Regions from separate parts of the Homo sapiens genome. Here regions 1, 3, 4, 5 and 6 are each linked to region 2. The links are contacts of gene promoters, found by promoter capture Hi-C in blood cells and fetal thymus (Javierre and others, 2016). All regions are on one chromosome and are shown on one strand. Each heading gives the region's core, a stretch centred on a gene start or on the middle of the fragment in contact. The rest is flanking DNA. Distances are from core to core; before and after follow the strand shown. Region 1 has its middle 19 kb from the start of CD2. Region 2 holds the start of TENT5C-DT (TENT5C divergent transcript). Region 3 holds the start of CD2 (CD2 molecule). Region 4 has its middle 29 kb from the start of CD2. Region 5 overlaps TTF2 (transcription termination factor 2). Region 6 overlaps CD101-AS1 (CD101 antisense RNA 1).

Region 1 (2,943 bases), core at 245-2,744, 830 kb after region 2:
TTTTCTGTAAGTTATGCCAAAACATCCACTTAAGTTCTTTGATTTGTACTATTCCTTAAAATAAATAAATTTAGTATCCAGGCCACCAAATTTAGGTCTGTAATTAATTTGAGTTGATTTTTATGAAGGCTGTTAAATCTGTGTCTAGATTCATTTTTCTCTTTGTGTATGTGGATGTCAAGTTGTTCCAGCATTATTTGTTGAAGAGACCATTCTTTCTCCATTGTTTGGCTTTTGCTCCTTTGTCAAATCAGGGGTGTCCAATCCTTTGGCTTCCCTGGGCCACACTGGAAGAAGAAGAATGGGGTCACACATAAAATACACTAACACTAACAACAGTTGATGAGTACAGAAAAAAAATCTCATAATGTTTTAAGAAAGTTGGCAAATTTGTGTCGGGCCACATTCAAAGCCATCCTGAGCTGCATGGTGCCCGCGGGCTGAGGGTTGGACAAGCTTGGACAAGACGATGAAATTTATATGGGTTTCTCTGGCTCTCTATTCTGTTCCATTTGATCTATTTGTCTCTTCTTTCACCAATACCATACTATTTTGATTACTGTAGCTTTATAGTACATCTTGAAGTGGGGCAGTTTGGTTCTCCAATTTTGTTCTCCTTCAATATTATATTGGCTATTCTGGGACTTCTGCCTCTCTATATAAACTTGAGAATCACTTTAATATCCACAAAATAGTTCGCAGGGATTTTTTTTTTTTTTTTTTGAGATGGAGTCTCACTCTGTCTCCCAGGCTGGAGTGCAGTGGCACAATCTTGGCTCACTGCAGTATCCACTTCCCAGGTTCCAGCGATTCTCCTGCCTCAGCCTCCCAAGTAGCTGGGATTACAGGTGCACACCACCATGCCCGGCTAATTTTTGTACTTTTTGTAGAGACGGGGTTTCACCATGTTGGCCAGGCTGCTCTCAAACTCGTAACCTCAAGTGATCTGCCCACCTCAGCCTCCCAAAATGCTGGAATTACAGGCAAGAGCCACCAAACCCAGCCCAATTTGCTGAGATTTTGACCAGGATTACACGGAATCTACAGATTGAGTTGGGAAGAATTAATATCTTGGCAACATTGAGTCTTCCTATCCATGAACATAAAATAGCTCTCCATTTATTTGGTTCTTCCTTTATTTTGTTCATTAGAGTTTTGTAGTTTTCTTCATGTAAATCTATACCTAAGTATTTCATTTTTTGAGTGCTAATGTAAATGGTATTATGTCTTTAATTTCAAATTGCACTTGTTCATTGTTGGTATACGGGAAACTGATGGACTTTTTAATATTAACCTTGTAAGAATTATTTAATACAACCTTGCTATTAATATAATCCCTTATTAGTTCCAGTATTATTTTGTTGTTGATTCTTTCAGATTTTCTACACAAACGATCATGTCATCTACAAAGATAGTTTTATTTATTTCTTCCCAACCTGCATACATTTTATTTCCTTTTCTTGTATTATTGCACTAGCTAAGACTTCTAATATGATGTTGAGAAACAGTGGTGAGAGGAAACATCCTGATTCCTGATCTTACTGGAAAGTTTAGAGTTTCTCATTGTTAAGTAAAATGTTAGGTGCATGTCTTTTTTGTAGATTTTTTTTTAATCAAGTTGAGGAAGTTTCCCTCTCTTCCCAGTTACCAAAAGTTTTTTTGATAAACAGGTGTTGATAAACAGGAGTCAAATTCTTTTTTTGTATCTACTTATAGGATCATGTGATTTTTCTTCATTAGCTTGTGGATATGATAGATTATACTAATTGATTTACAAATGTTGAACCAGCTTTGCATACCTGAGATTAATCCCACTTGGTTGTAATGTATAGTCCTTTTTATACATTGTCAGTCAAATTTGATTTGTTAATATTTTTTGAAAAATTTTGCATCTGTATCTGTGAGAGTTGTTGGCCTGTAGTTTCTTTTTTGTAATGTCATTGTCTGGTAGGCAATTAAAAAGATCAGAATTTTCCCTTGTTTCCTCATCCTTTTGTTCTGTGTTGCTATAAATAAACCAGAAAGATGCCATGTACTTAAGTAATGTCCTGGCATTTTTTCTTCAGGAAAACCCTGCTTATGAAGCCAGGGAAGTGACAGAAGGCTGGTGACTCAATCTAGGATTTGCGAGGTGGCCTCACAGGTCTGTTCTTTAGCTTTAAATACCTCTGGTGTAGGATTTTATCATCCATTTGTTCCATGTGAGGCAACATTATGAAACTGACTCAGATGAATCAAACTCATAGCAGACTAAGTCACCTTACAGAGTGCTTATTTATCAATTTATAATGAGCTGTGTGTCTTTCCAATAACTAGCCCATTTATATGTGCCATCCAGGATATTCCTTCTTGAGTATCATGCCAGAAATAAAGCTCACAGTTTTCAGATGCATTCTGTACACAAGGATATATTTGTTACATTACATACATTATTTCCATTTAGTCCTCACTCTAACCTTGTGAGGTGTTATCCTCATTTAGCAGATGAGAAAATCAGTGTTTACAGAAGCTGAATAAATTACTCAAGCTTACAAATCCAGTGAGAGAGAGAGTCAGAACTTCCTGGCTTCGATACCTGTGAGTCTTCTACTACATTGAACTTCATGGGCACAGAACTGGACACAGAGATGGTCTCACACAAGATTCACGTTACAGTGGAGTTCAAGAGTTAGGAAAGGTCTCCCCCAGGAAATGACTTTCTGTCTGAACTCTGAAAGAAGAATGTGGACAGGTGAAGAGCCAGGTGAAAAGTGTGGGCAGTGGGAACAGCATGTATAATAGGAACAGCATGTACAGTGGTCCTGAGGTGGCAAACTTATTGGTGAACTTGAGTCACCAAGTCACTGCAACCCACTGAGCATGGGTAAGGAGCCTAACATTAGAAAATTAGCAAAGGAAAAGGAGCAGGAGGACTGAGATGAAATTTCCCAGTTTACAGTTGAG
Region 2 (2,870 bases), core at 116-2,615:
GAGTTCAGGTGTGCAGGCTACCAACCTGTATTCTTCAGGTAAGTCACCCTCCTCTGACTCGCCTCCCACCCTGCTCCCTCCTGCCTCGCGACCAGTGCGAAGGGAGTCCCCGAACTGCGACACCTCCCGGGGCAGCCGCACCGGTATCCGTCCGAGTCGACCCACTTGCCGTGGCTTTTCACCTACGCAGTAAAGCAAGTTTCATTTTCAAAAGGAGAGGAAGCAGGTTTCACAGACACCGCATTCCCAAGAAGTTTCTGAGAGACGCGCAGCGCACAAGTCACTGGCTTGGATCCCTTTGCTGCTCATGGTGTCCACAGTCTGATGTGAGCGCATTAAATTTAAGGATCTCCGCCCTTCTCCTTAAAACTCAGGACTTGGCAATGAGCCTAGGAAGCGCCCCTCCCCTCCCCAACCAGATCCAAGCCCCGGACCGCTGCGTCTCCAGCTGCGCCTAGTGAAACCGCCGAATTCGAATTCACACTCGGCGGGCCGGCGAAGGTGTGCGCGCCCGCGGGAGCGCCGGGGCGAGCCCGAGGGACTGCAAGCCAGGAAGGGAGGCATGGGTGGCGGGGGGCGCCGTCTGATCCAGGTAGGAGCGGAGGCGCCGATCACACACTCTTCAGACGCCCTGCCCGCGCCTGGCCAGCGCGCAGCCTGCAGGACGCGCGGAGCAGGAACTCGCTGGAGTTTGCCAAGCCCCAGGTCTCTGGAAAGTTGTAGCTCCCTTTCGGAGCGTCTCTTCTGGCCCTTTGGGACGGGTGTGTCAGGGGCGGGGGTCCTCGAGGGAGCAGGAGGGGAAAGGAGCACCGGGTCTCGGCACCTGTCCGCAGCTCCCCTCGGGTCCGCCTGCCCCCTACCAGGCTGGGCAAAGACCTGAGCACCACTTAGTGGGGGCGGACCCCCACTAAGTGAGCTCGCGGCTCCCTGGGGCTGCTGCCGCATCGCCGCACCTTTAGAGGAGGGGGGTCGCGGACTCACCTGGGCAATAGAAGAGGAGGCGACAGAGGCAGGTCCTTGGCGTGGGCAGGCCCCAGCAGGAGCGGCGCGACCTCTACAGCCCCTAGGCAGCGGCACCGAGTGAGCCGTCCCGCCGCCGCCCCCTCCGTTCTTATACGGCGGGACCACGCCCCCGTCCCCGCCCCTGAGCCGCCCTCCCGGGGGAGCCAGGGGCGGGGCGTGGCGGAGCCAGTCCCCTCGGGACCCTTCCGCCCGGCCCTGACGGCAGGGGCGGGGCGAGGGCTGCCCTCTGATTGGCTCTTCGGGTGAATGGTTGCCAAGAGACGAGTAAATCCTCAGCGGCGGGAAGGGGCGGGGTGCTCAGGGAGGCAGCACTGCGCAAGCGCAATAGAGGGGGCTGCGTCGACACCCACTTAACTTCGGAGTTAGTGGGACACCTTTCTTTTTGCTTAGTACGCTTTTCTGCTATTCCTGCCGCATAACTCTCTCTTCCCCAGGCTTTTCCCATCTCCATCCTATTCTCTCGCAGGCAGGTTTTTCTTCCGCCTCTCTGGGGATTTTCGCGTTGGTTCTCCCTGCCCCCAGGAGTGAGGCGGGTAACGCCCACGCCTACCTCCGGTGTGTGTTTTTGAAGTCGGAAAAAACTTAATGGTTTCTGGGCCCTGGGCACCTTTCTGATTCCCCAAGCAAACTGGCTGGAGGCGAAGGCGTGGTCTTCGGGGAGAGAGCGCCGGCGGCTCTCTGGCCCCGGGGACCACCTGTGTGCAGTTAGTGGGACGAAGGGCCTCGGGGAGTCCATCGCCAATGTCGGCAGCCGCAGCCGCTTCGGCCCCATTCGGAATGCCACAGCACTTGGTCCAGTGTGTTATATAACATGCAGGCAGGGCTTGGACACCATCCATTCATAACATAGCGAGTGGTTTACAGCCCAGGTTCTGAATTCAGACTAATCTGAGTTGAGATCTCCATGCACCACTTAAACTTTCTGTAAGGCCTTAGGCAAGTAACTGAACCAACCCTCCAACAACCTGCGTCTCCTATCTGTAGGACAAGACTAACAATGGGACAGCTCTGTAGAATTATATAAGTATTAAGAAAATACGTGGGAAACAATTAGTGCATTGCCTAGTGCCTGTTAGAAAGTGTGTGGCAAATGCTGTATGTATCAGATAGTAGCCAATGTTGGACAATGTTATTTATCAATAGACATTATTGTACTTGTATTGATCGTTTACTAGGTGCTGGGGGAAAAGATTACTTCCCAGATGCAGTATTTACATCTCCTCCGCCCTACTCTTCCAACCCTGCCTGAAATAAGTGTGGTTCTCCTGTCTGTCAGACTATGAAGAGTTCTCAAATATGTCTTTCCCAGCGAGGGAGAGGAGAGTGAGTATCCAGGAACTTTAATGCGATAGGACATCAATATGAGTGTTTATAGGGAAAGCCAGTGATCCTATTGTTAGACGCGAAATCAAGACATATGATCTGATTTTTTGTTTTACTTTTTGTTTTTGAGGTATAACATTCAGTAAAGCGCACAAATCAAAAGTGTCCAGAATGATAATTTTTTACATATGCATACCCATGTAACTGCCATCCATATCAAGATGTGGAACCTTTCCAGCTCATTCATGCCCCTTCCCATTCAGTATCCGACAAGGATTACCACTATTTTAACCTCTATCACCATAGATTAGTTTTACCAATATTTGAACTTGCTATGGATGAAATACATAACACGTACAATTTTATGTCTGGCTTCTCTTGCCCAACAGTGCGTCTATGAGATTCATCCATATTGTTGTGTGTAACAATGGTCCATTCTTTTTCACTACTGTGTATTACTTCATTATATAAATATTCAACGATTTGTGTACTCATCCTACTGTTGGTGGACATTTGAGTTGCTT
Region 3 (2,883 bases), core at 238-2,737, 850 kb after region 2:
TCCCCAAGTCAAGCGCAGCTTCTTCTTTTCCCTTCTTGTCACTACTTCCCCAGCATCCCCCCGGGCTTTCAACTTCAATGGCATTTCGATTCCACTTTCTCTACCTTCTCTCCCTTGCCTAAGCCACCTTTCTCTATGCCTGACCCTTATTATCCTCATTCTTCCTATTTTAGAGGCACCCTTTGGTCTAGGCCAGTGGCGATTGACTTTGGCAGCTCATTAGAATCCCCCAGGGAGCTTTAGAACCTAATGATACCCAGGCCGCATGCAAAAAAAATCTGATTTAATTGGTCCTCACTCCACTTGGATTACAGCAGCAGCTTTCTAACTAGTCTCCCTAACCCCATCCTCAATATCCACTCCTGTCCTCCCAGTACAGGCAGAGATATACAAAGCCACACCTTGTGCATCTTCTACACATATCAGCAAAAATCACCTGCCACCTTGTATCACTCTGACAAGCAGATCCAAAATAAGGGCTGTTCATCCTTAAATATGTTGTTTCCAGCCCTTTTCTGCCATATAACTCCTCCTTCAGGGCAGCCTGGCTTGAAATGGGCTCTGTCGATGAAAGGCCCGCTGCTCTCCAGTCAGCCTCTTCTTCTCGCCCCACTCTTAGCTCGCCGATTCATCAGCAACCTGGAACAGTTGCCTTTTCCCTCGGCCTACCTGTGTCCCCCTCCCGATTAATGCCACCTTAATCCAGGTTCTTCACCCAACCCCACATTCCTGTAACCACCTGAAGACAGAGTTGTAGGCAGGTAGACTTGAGGGTCTATCAGATGTGTGGATCCCATTCCCGCATTGGACCACAGTCTCCACTGGGGCAGGAGACATGCATCTGGTTTCCTGTATAGCCCCCCTGGAGGCAGAGGTCAGCGCTGGGGAATATTAGAAATGCTATTTTCCAACTTGCCAAATAGCACCCACACTGAAATAAAGCAATTAAGGGAATGAACACTTACCTTGAATCTTCAAATCAAATATTTTTTCCAACACATTTTTTCCTTTTGTATCATATATTGATACCTTGTAGATATCCTGATCATCGGTCTTCAGATGCTTAATTTTCAGAGTTCCATTTTTAAATAGCTTATATGTATCTTTTTCCTTGAAAGTCTCTTTCTCTTTTCTGAATTGTGCAATCTTTTTCTTGTCTGAAGTTTTTTCCCATTTTATATCGTCAATATCATCACTCATTTGAAAACTAGGAATGTCCAAGTTGATGTCCTGACCCAAGGCACCCCAGGTTTCCAAGGCATTCGTAATCTCTTTGGAGACTGCACCTATAAAAAGCAAAAGAGTTACTGAGAGTCACTTTCAGGGAAAGCTGGGTTGGGACTTCTTTGACTCTTATGCTTACCTTTGGAAGAAACATTGAAAATCAGAAGGAAGCTGGCTACAAATTTACATGGAAAGCTCATCTTAGGGGTTGGTTTCCTCTTTTGATTCTGAGCTCTTCATGCAAAAGGAACTGAAGTGAGACTGGTGGAGTCCACACCCCGAGAGCTTAACCACGTGCCTCTCTTTACATCTTTTACAGTAACATAAAACATAATACACATACACAGAGAGCAAGAGCGCGCACAAGCCAGCCCTTCTGATGTGCTCCTTTGCCAAAGCAGATGTGTTTATGAGTGTGTGTTTTCTTGCTGCATTTTAATTCTCACACAAAAAAATTGGGAAGGATAGGTTTTCTCATCTCAGTGAAAGAGAAAAGGAACAGAGAGGCTAAGTAGATCACTAAGGATCACTCTTTTGTAAACAAGAAGCCAAATTCAACCACACAGCCTTTTATCCACTTAGGTATACTGTCCCTAACAAGACCACATAGAAATATAGGTAAATGTTCACAAGCCAATAGCAGAATGCAAACATTTATCCCATATGATTATATTGAAAAATGTAGACCCATAAAATGATGAGGAAATTGATTTTTTTGTTTCTCCAAAGATATTTTTCATGTTCTAAAATCGTTTTTGTGGTGAAAAGAAAGAAATTGAATATCAGCTGTAAATGCTTGCAATCCCCAAATCCTATGTTCGGCATACATTTTACAACTCTAGTGAAATTCACAGTTAGATAAATAAAAACTTATTCCAAAACAAAGAAGCATAGAGACTATGAAATATAATTAAACTACCAAAACAAAGGAGTCAAAAGCATTTAAAGTGATTAACATTATAGGTGGTTAAGAAAAAGGAGAGATTAGGAGAAAAAATAAATGAGAGGGAACAGGGAGAGAAAAAAAGAACAGAAATTTGTGACACAAGGAAACAGACAGTGATGCAGAGACGGGTGTGCCCTGAAAAGATGCCTAAAAAGAGAAATAACCATGACAGACTTCCAAAGCACATTTTCAGGGTTATAATTCTTTAGGTCACAGTGAGTAAAAATTGCAAAAGTGGTGCTCGTTTTCTTTTTCAACTTTAAGTACAAATATGGATATTATCTGTCAGAAAGTTGCCAAGGAAATGAAATTAAGTCAAAGCAGTTGTTTGCTGTTACTGGGTAAAAGAAAGCCAAATATTTACCTCATGGTTGTATGAGCGTCATCCACAATAATGAACTACAGTTGGATTAAAGTTTTAAATGCAAAAATACTATAATAATGCTAAAAGGAGGCCGGGGGTGGTGGATCACAGCTATAATCCCAGCACTCTGGGAGGTCGAGGCGGACCTCCTCACCTGAGGTCAGGAGTTCAAGACCAGCCTGGCCAACATGGTGAAACCCATCTCTACTAAAAATACAAAAATTAGCCAGGTGTGGTGATGTGCGCCTGTAATCCCAGCTACTCAGGAGGCTGAGGCAGGCAAATTGCTTGAATCTGGGAAGCGGAGGTTGCAGTGAGCCAGGATTGTGCCACTGCACTCCAGCCTGGG
Region 4 (2,986 bases), core at 35-2,534, 880 kb after region 2:
TTGTTTCCCCAAGAATCACCCATCTCTCCTACCTGACTCTGAGTTCCACAGGCCAGGAGTAGTGCATGAATGAATGGCTAATGACCCTCATTGAGAAATTCTTTCTATAGCCTGACACATGGAGCAATTCACTTCAACTCTCTGAGATTCCATTTTCTCATCTGTAATATTAGGATATACAATGATATCAGTGGTTTCCAGGAGGCTGGGGTACCTTCTCCTTGGGGGTCTACAATGATAGCAATGGAGCAATGTTTTTAAAAGCTCAAAAGAAAGTGCATGTGTTGCCAGTTAAGGCTATGTTGCCTAATATGAACACTGTCTCTTGCTCTGGTTGAATGATGTCAACTCTGCAGGTATCATAGATAAAATCATGTTGCTTAGCATGTGTATCCATCAAGATTCTTGGCTGCATGCAATAGAAACCAAGTCTAGTTGACTTAAGCAGAAAATAATTGCTTTGGGAAAATGTCTGCCAGCTCCAGAGCAAATGAAAAGACAGGAAGACCAGACTCTGGATATGCGCAGTAGCCAGGAAAAGCTGAGCAATGAAGAGCTCAGCCAAGGTCACACCACAGAAGCGGCATGGTTGGGATACCACTGGACACCAGACACCGACCCACTGGAACCACCAGGACATGGGATGTCACTGCCCAGTGGACTGCATTCCAAACCATGGTTGCTGCTTTGTGTTACTTGCTCCAGATGCAAAGTCCCAGGTGAGACCATCCAGTTGGCAAATTTTTTTTTTTTTTTTTTTTTTTTGAGACAGAGTTTTGCTCTTGTTGTGCAGGCTGGAGTGCAATGGCACGATCTCGGCTCACCGCAACCTCTGCCTCCCGGGTTTGAGTGATTCTCCTGCCTCAGCCTCCCGAGTAGCTGGGATTACAGGCATGCACCACCATGCCCGGCTAATTTTTTGTATTTTTAGTAGACACCGGGTTTCACTATGTTGCCCAGGCTGGTCTCAAATGCCTGACCTCGTGATCCACCCACCTTGGCCTCCCAAAGGGCTGGTATTACAGGCGTGAGCCACCGTGCCCGGCAGAGTTGGTAAATCTTAAGCCTTGTGTGCCCTTGTCCAGCTGCTGAAGGACAGGGACAACAAGTATTAGGCCATCAGAGGCTCTATTTTATTAGGAGAATTCCCCAAATATAAGAAGGAGATCAGCTGCTGGACAGCCCACAAAACGAAACAAAGCAAAATCCACTATGGTTGCTAAATGTTTATTTTTTGTTTATTTATTGATATATTTTTTTGAGACAGGGTCTTACTCTATTGCTTAGGCTGCGGTGCAGTGGTGCAATCATAGCTCACTGTAACCTCAAACTCCTGGGTCAAGCAATCCTCCTGACTCGGTCTCCCAAGTAGCTAGGATTAGGACCATAGGCATGCATCACCACACCCAGGTTATTAAATGTTTTTTATGACCAAAAACACCAACAAAACTTAACTGACGGTAGAAACACAATATTTTGGAACACGAGATCAATGGAAGAAAAAAATAATGAACAGGTTTAACGATTAAAAAAAAAAAGACTGACTGGAACAGGTATCTCTAATGTTGTTCACAGACTTAGACGCCCCCTGCAGGCAGGATGAAGGAATAAAGACTGGACTGATTTTCTCAAGCCCTTTCTTTCATTGACTATATGCCATAATAACCTGGACTTGTAGAATTAATCACTGCTTAGAAATAACTAGCTCATAGCTGCTACACATAAGAGAAAACAAAAGTAATAAACATGGTATGGAGGTCCTATGGTTTGAATGTGTCCCACAAAGTTCATGTGTTAGAAACTTAATCCCCAAACCAACATTATTGGGAGGTGGGACCTTTAAGAGGCTCTGCCCTCGTGAATAGATTAATGCTTTTCTCGCAGAAGCGTGTTCCTGGATAAAAGGATAAGTTTGGACTGCTTCCTGGTCTCTCTCGTGTCCATGCTTTCTTGCCCTTCCACCTTCCACCATGGGATGTCACGGCAAGAAGCCTTTCACCAGATGAAGGCCCCTGTACCTTGTACTTCCCAGGCTTTAGAACTGCAAGAAATAAATCTCTGTTCTTTATAAATTACCCAGTCTCAGGTATTCTGTTATAGCAGTACAAAACAGACCAAAACAAGTGGTTTCTTTTATATAAAAGAAATCTGAAGGCGGGCAGGCCCAGGTTGGTACCGTGATTTCATGGTGTCCATGAACCCAGGCCTCTTTTGTTTTTGCTCTGCCATCATTAGTAGTACAGGGCTCCCATCCTCAAAGACACTTCCTTAAGGCTGCTGGAGCTCCAGCCATCATGTCTGAATTCCACATAGGAAGTAGGAGGAAAGGTGAAGGGACAAAAGACAAGAGAGAAGATATAAACTGTCTGACCCCTCTTAAGACTTCCTGAAAGTCCTGAAATGTACATTTAGATTTAACAATGTCTGCTTGCATCTTATTGACCACCCTTAACTGTAAGATAGCCTGGGAGTTGCGGTCTTTTATTAGGGCACATGGTCACTCAAACATTGTGTGAGCAACTAGCAGTCTTCACTTCCCCAGGGAAGTCTCAAAAGTAGTGAGAAGTTTGGTTTAGAGGCCTTTGACTCTCCCTCTGCTCCAACTTTGTCCTCCCCTGAGTCAACTTTATGTGATATCACTTAGGACAAGGGAAGCTTCCAGGGAAGACACCAGCACTGAGGTCTTAGGACCACCTCTCTGCAATGTCTAGAGAGTGGTATGAGCCCTTTGAGGAGCTTCCTAGGAAATAACCAAACACTGAACATTTATTGAGCATTAACCTTCTGCCAGGCACTGTGTGAAGTGCTTTATCTCCACCCTGTTACCCCATCCTCACAACTGCTCCTCGAGGTAGGCACAATTGTGCCCATCCTGAAAATGAGGGAGCCAAGGATACGTGGCCATAACTTGCCTGATTACAGTTAGTGAGTAGGGACCAGGATGGAAACGTGTGTTTATCTGACTTCTGAGCCAGGATCTTAACCA
Region 5 (2,946 bases), core at 40-2,539, 530 kb after region 2:
TCTCCTGAGAAGATGCAGATGGTCTTGTAAGCTCATTACCTTGGCACTGTTGAGATTTAATTTCAGAAAAGTCTCTTTTGTGTGTGCCTCCAGTCTCTGCCTCACACTGAATCTCTGCTCCCTCTTCTTGCTTCTTCTCTTGAACTACAGATTGTTTTTTCTTTGGTACCAGGCCAGATGAGAGGTCTTTCTCCATCATTTCAGGCTTCTGTTCTTTCTTTTGATCGAAAAGCTGATCTCCCTTTTCTCTTTGCTTCTTATCAGCCTTCTTTTCCTCACCTTCACCTTTGATGAGCTGTTTCCAGAGAGCTGGTTCTTGATTCTTGTCAAGTACCTTGAATGGATTTCTCAGCCAGTTGGAAGAATGATGAAATGTCTCAGATGCATGCTGAGACTTATTGGATACAGAATGTTCTTTGGAATCAGGATCCTAAAGACAAAATAATTAATCTTCATATAAAATATTAATACAAACTTCGTATCTAGAATGCCTTTCCTTTTCATCTCAACTTTTATTTTATATACAGGGGGTACATATGCAGCTTTGTTATATGAGTATATTGCACTCAGGCAGTGAGCATAGTGCCCAATAGATAGTTTCTTAACCCATGCCCTCCTCCCCTCTCCAGTAGTTCACAGTATCTATTGTTCCCATGTTTATGGGTGCTCAATGTTTAGCTCCTGCTCGTGAGAACATATGATATTTGGTTTTCTGTTCCTGCATTAATTCACTTAGGATTATTCTGCAGAAGAAATGGAAACACAGTAAAAGCAGTCCAATATTTCCTGAACATTCTTGGTACCATTTCCACGTCTAGAAAAGATGACGTGCCAAACCCACAAAGGACTCATTTCTTCACGATACTTTCGAAGCTTGGTTCCTTCTCTGTCCATGATCACTCTTTTCCAGGCCTCAAGGAAAAGTAGTGACAAACCAAAGTGCTTTTACAATCACAATGGCCACAGTGTATACTTTTCAGGAAAAAAACTATTCTCTTAAGATGAACTTTTCCCCAAACCTAAACATTGTCTTAAAACACTTGCTTTGATTTTGGCTTTAGGAGGATTTTACTGTGGTAATCTAGAATCGTAAGTTCAAGCCACACCTCTGCCAAAACAAGTCTTATCACCTCCCTACTTCTAGTTCCTCACGTACTGAATATCTGTAGGGCTTCTCCTATTAGGAGATGCTCCTCCTAGTTCTAACATACTAGGAGCTTATGCTTATACTTAGCTTATACCAGTATCAAGTAGAAATTCCTCTATAAAAAGATACAAGAGTTAGTCAAGGAAATCTATTTTTTTCCTTGAGTAAAAGAATACTGACTACATTTAAGACCTCAAAAAATATTTACTAAGTGAAATAGGATGCAAATAATTAATCTTGATTACGACTAAATGATCCTTTGAATAAAAGTCCCAACAGGGCCTACCTTGCTTAAAGAAAACTATCTTTCGGAGACAGTCTGATGAAGACCAACTCATTTACGTGAACTTCAAGGTATTTTCAGGTGATGCTGCATATTAAAAGTCTTAACACAGCAGGTTTGAAAACAGATGAATAATTCCTACCTGCCATGGAATACTTCCACACCAGCGTTTCCCCTCTGCCTTACTTCTAATGCATCGGAAGAACAATCTAATGAAGTATAAAACACAAATAATCAAGGCTATGAAAATCCATTAGAACAAGAGATAAGCTTATTTTTAATCCAAGAAAACATCTTGCAACTATTTGAACCTGGCTTTGGGAGGTCACTTGAAACCAATTACTTTTATATACACATTTAAAAATTATTTACTGCACAGAACATTTATAAGGGCTAGGAAGTCCAAGAATAAATATGGCATGGTAGCCAGAGAATGCACACAGGTTTATTCTTTTTAGTCTGTAACGAATGACTGAAATAGAAACACTGATCAGCAATGGCTACTAAAATCAGAGAAATGAGAGACAGCCAGACACTGTGTGTCCCTGAAGGGGGGTCACAACACTAGCTACAAAGCAATGTTGCCCCAAAAAAAACCCCAAAACAACGAAGCCAAAACAAACAAAAAACTAACCTCTAGATCCAATTACCAATTTATAGGAAATAGAAACAACAGAAGAAGGCGTAAAACTATACTGTGGAGAATATAACCTTCAAAATCTTGGCAGTGGGAAACGCTATAGGACAAACAACCTGATCCCTTCCACAAATAAGTTACGAGGGAGAAAAAAAGATGAAGGGAAAACTTCAGAGACTTAAAAGACATATTAATCAATTCCAATTTGTGAACCTTATTTGGATCCTGATTTAAACAAATTAAAACTACTAAAAAAAAACTATGACATTTATGAGTCCACTGAAAATATGTAAACCAACTGGTATGTTAAAAGAGTGCAGCTGGATGCAGTGGCACACACCTATAGTCCCCTCTACTCAGGGGCCTGAGACAGGAGGATCATTTGAGGCCAGAGGCTGCAATGTGCTAAGATTGTGCCTGTGAATAGCCACTGCACTCAAACCTGGGCAACACAGCAAGACTCCCTTCTCTAAAACATACAAATATTTTTTAAAAAATAGTTCATATCTTGGCCGGGTGCGGTGGCTCACACCTGTAATCCCAGCACTTCGGGAGGCTGAGGTGGGCGGATCACGAGATCAAGAGATCGAGACCATCCTGGCCAACATGGTGAAATCCCGTCTCTACTAAAAATACAAAAATTAGCCCGGCGTGGTGGCACATGCCTGTAGTCCCAGCTACTCAGGAGGCTGAGGCAGGAGAATCGCTTGAACCCGGGAGGCGTAGGTTGCAGTGAGCCGAGATTGCACCACTGCACTCCAGCCTGGCGACACAGTGAGACTCTGTCTCAAAAAAAAAAAAAAAAAAAAAGTCCGTATCTTTTAAAGCTACATACTAAAATATTGACAGATGAAATAATGTTATCTGGGATTTTTTTCA
Region 6 (2,700 bases), core at 100-2,599, 550 kb after region 2:
CAGAACTTTCAATCCAGTTCTTGCCACTATAGTATTTTTTCTTCTTCTTCTTCTTCTTTTTTTTTTTGAGACGGAGTCTCGCTCTGTCGCCCAGGCTGGAGTGCAGTGGCGTGATCTCGGCTCACTGCAACCTCCACTTCCCAGGTTTAAGCAATTCTCCTGCCTCAGCCTCCCAAGTAGCTGGGATTACAGGCACCCACCACCACGCCCAGCAATTTTGTGTATTTTTAGTAGAGATGGGGTTTCGCCATGTTGGCCAGGCTGGTCTCGAACTCCTGAGACCTCAGGTGATCCACCTGCCTCGGCCTCCCAAAGTGCTGGGATTACAGGCCTGAGCCACTGCGCCCAGCCTATAGTATTTTTATAAAGCATAAATTATTCAGCAATGCATTCAGATATTTAACCCACACATCGGTAAGTGTTTAGGTATTTGCTGTGGTGTAGAGACATGGCTCAACAAATCCAAGACAAAAACCAAAAACCCAAGTCCTGCCATTTTATAAATGACCACTAGGTAGCAGCCTAGTAACATAAAAACCAAACTGAGGCCCACCCTCCTCTGTTTCATTCTTTTTGTTTGAAGATATATAATGGTAATTCAATTTCATTTCATTTCATTTTGTGCCTTTCAAACATATGACTGTTTTCAACTTGTCCTTTGACATAGGCTCGATCAGGATGATACTATAGTGAGAACAAATGTGGTTATAATTTGTAAAGCCAAGAGACTTTACAAATTATTTTGTTATACCAATATTTTTTCAGTACTAGATTCCAAATTTCACTGTTCTTAAAATATTATTCCAAAAGTGGTTCAATGCAGGCTCTTTATCTTCTTCTTTTTTTTTTTTTTTTTTTTTGGTAAATGTACAGGTATTTTTTTCAGTTGGAGTCTTGTCTGTTACCCAGGCTGGAGTGGAGTGCAATGGTAGGATCTTGGCTCACTGCAACCTCCGCCTCCTGGGTTCAAGTGATTCTCCTGCCTCAGCCTCCTGAGTAGCTGGGATTATAGGCTTGTGCCACCACGCTCAGCTAATTTTTGTATTTTTAGTAGAGATGGGGTTTCACCATGTTGTCCAGGCTGGTCTTGAACTCCTGAACTCAGGTGATCCACTCGCCTCGACCCCCCAAAGTGCTGGGATTACAGGCTTGAGCCATCGCGCCCGGCCACAATTCTTTTTTTTTTTTTTTTGAGACAGAGTCTCACTCTGTTGCCAGGCTGGAGTACAGTGGCATGATCTTGGCTCACTGTAACCTCTGCCTCCTGGGTTCAAGTGACTCTCCTGCCTCAGCCTCCCGAGTAGCTGGGATTACAGGTGCCCGCCACCACGCCTGGCCAATTTTTGTATTTTTAGTAGAGATGGGGTTTCACCCTGTTGGCCAGGCTGGTCTCGAACTCCTGAACTCAGGTGATCCACCCGCCTCGGCCTCCCAAAGTGCTGGGATTACAGGCATGAGCCATCACACCTGGCCCACAATTCATTGTTTAAGTAAATTTATAAAGTTGTGCCATCACCACCAGAATCCAGTTTTAAAACATTTCTATCACTCAAAAACTTTCCTCAAAGCTGTGTGCAGTCAATCCCAACTGCCACCCCCAGCTAGTCCCAAGGCAACCTCTGATATGCTTTCTGTCTTTATAAGTTTGCCTTTTCTGGACATTTCATATAATGGAGTCATGTAATATGTAGTCTCTTGCCTCTGTCTTCTTTCACTTACATAATGCTTGTGAGGTTTACCCATGTTGCACATGTATCAGTATTTCACTCCTTTTTATTGCTGAGTAATATTCCATTGTGTTCATTCACCAGTTGGTGGACATTTGGATCATTTTCCCTTTGGAATTATTAGGAATAATATTGCTATGAACATTAATGTTAAAGTCTGTTTTATTGTTTTTGTTTTTGTTTTTTTGTTTTTTGTTGTTGTTGTTTTTGAGATGGAGTCTTGCTCTGTCACCCAAGCTGGAGTGCAGTGGCATGATCTTGGCTCACTGCAACCTCCAGCTCCCAGGTTCAAGCAATTCTCCTGCCTCAGCCTCCCGAGTAGCTGGGATTATAGGCTCGAGCCACCACGTAAGCTAATTTTTATATTTTTAGTAGGGACAGGGTTTCACCATGTTGGCCAAGCTGGTCTCAAACTCCTGACCTCAGGTAATCTATCTGCCTCAGCCTCCCTAAGTACTGGGATTACAGGCATGAGCCACCGCACCCGGCCTAACGTTAAAGTCTTTATATGAACATTTGTTCTCATTTCTCTTGGGCAGATAAACCTGTGAGTGGAATTGCTAGTTCATATGGTTAGTTTGTTTAACTTTTTAAGAAATTGCCAAACCACTTTCCAAAGTGGCTATACCATTTTATATTTCCACCAGCAACGTATGAGGGTTCCCAGTTCTTCATGTCCTCAACAATGCTTGTTATTGCGTGCCTTTTTTAGTAGGTATGAAGTGGTATCTGACTTTTGTTTGAATTTTGATTTTTCTATTGATGTGGCACTCTTTTTCGTGTGCTTTTTAGCCATCATCTTCCTCTTTTTAAATGGTCTTGAAAGTCTTTTTCCTTTAACGTTTGTATGGAACTTAAACCTAAGTTAAAATGACATTAATTGTTATTAATACAAAGACATAAAAAGACATAGTAATCATTTGTATAATGTTAAGTAACAAACATTATACAATGTACTATGTACTATGAGTAT

What was found. The method cuts DNA at HindIII sites, captures the fragments that hold promoters and counts their contacts. A CHiCAGO score of 5 or more calls a contact.
Region 1: a contact is called between a fragment that was not itself captured here and the fragment with the promoter of TENT5C-DT in region 2, in 1 of 17 cell types (total CD4 T cells). The highest score is 5.7, in total CD4 T cells.
Region 3: a contact is called between the fragment with the promoter of CD2 here and the fragment with the promoter of TENT5C-DT in region 2, in 1 of 17 cell types (non-activated CD4 T cells). The highest score is 5.4, in non-activated CD4 T cells.
Region 4: a fragment that was not itself captured here is called in contact with the fragment with the promoter of TENT5C-DT in region 2 in 1 of 17 cell types (non-activated CD4 T cells); the score reaches 5.5 in non-activated CD4 T cells.
Region 5: a fragment that was not itself captured here is called in contact with the fragment with the promoter of TENT5C-DT in region 2 in 2 of 17 cell types (neutrophils and megakaryocytes); the score reaches 6.4 in neutrophils.
Region 6: a contact is called between a fragment that was not itself captured here and the fragment with the promoter of TENT5C-DT in region 2, in 4 of 17 cell types (neutrophils, naive B cells, naive CD4 T cells and 1 more). The highest score is 6.6, in neutrophils.

The regions. Positions count from the first base shown.
Region 1 is chr1:116,772,032-116,774,974 of GRCh38, reverse strand. No RefSeq gene overlaps it. Among named protein-coding and RNA genes, the nearest start is that of CD2, 19 kb to the right of the region's middle. The HindIII fragment of the contact is 2,071 bases long and covers 459-2,529 here.
Region 2 is chr1:117,604,265-117,607,134 of GRCh38, reverse strand. TENT5C-DT (TENT5C divergent transcript) reads left to right here and starts at 1,365. Exons shown (of 3, transcript NR_121626.1): 1 at 1,365-1,489; 2 at 2,199-2,346. TENT5C (terminal nucleotidyltransferase 5C) reads right to left here and starts at 1,087. Exons shown (of 2, transcript NM_017709.4): 1 at 982-1,087. RefSeq lists a silencer at 1,022-1,361 and enhancers at 1,272-1,772, 1,773-2,273. The HindIII fragment of the contact is 6,964 bases long and covers 1-2,870 here.
Region 3 is chr1:116,753,034-116,755,916 of GRCh38, reverse strand. It overlaps CD2 (CD2 molecule), which reads right to left and starts at 1,487. Exons shown (of 5, transcript NM_001767.5): 1 at 1,364-1,487; 2 at 966-1,286. The coding sequence starts at 1,424. RefSeq lists promoters at 1,370-1,812, 1,370-2,883, a cis regulatory region at 2,871-2,883 and a silencer at 2,734-2,883. The HindIII fragment of the contact is 7,255 bases long and covers 1-2,883 here.
Region 4 is chr1:116,723,547-116,726,532 of GRCh38, reverse strand. No RefSeq gene overlaps it. Among named protein-coding and RNA genes, the nearest start is that of CD2, 29 kb to the left of the region's middle. The HindIII fragment of the contact is 2,746 bases long and covers 1-2,657 here.
Region 5 is chr1:117,072,354-117,075,299 of GRCh38, reverse strand. It overlaps TTF2 (transcription termination factor 2), which reads right to left. Exons shown (of 23, transcript NM_003594.4): 4 at 1,573-1,639; 5 at 1-430. Among named protein-coding and RNA genes, the nearest start is that of TTF2, 14 kb to the right of the region's middle. The HindIII fragment of the contact is 827 bases long and covers 876-1,702 here.
Region 6 is chr1:117,053,344-117,056,043 of GRCh38, reverse strand. All of the region lies in intron 1 of CD101-AS1 (CD101 antisense RNA 1), which reads left to right. Among named protein-coding and RNA genes, the nearest start is that of CD101-AS1, 4.8 kb to the left of the region's middle. The HindIII fragment of the contact is 6,290 bases long and covers 1-2,700 here.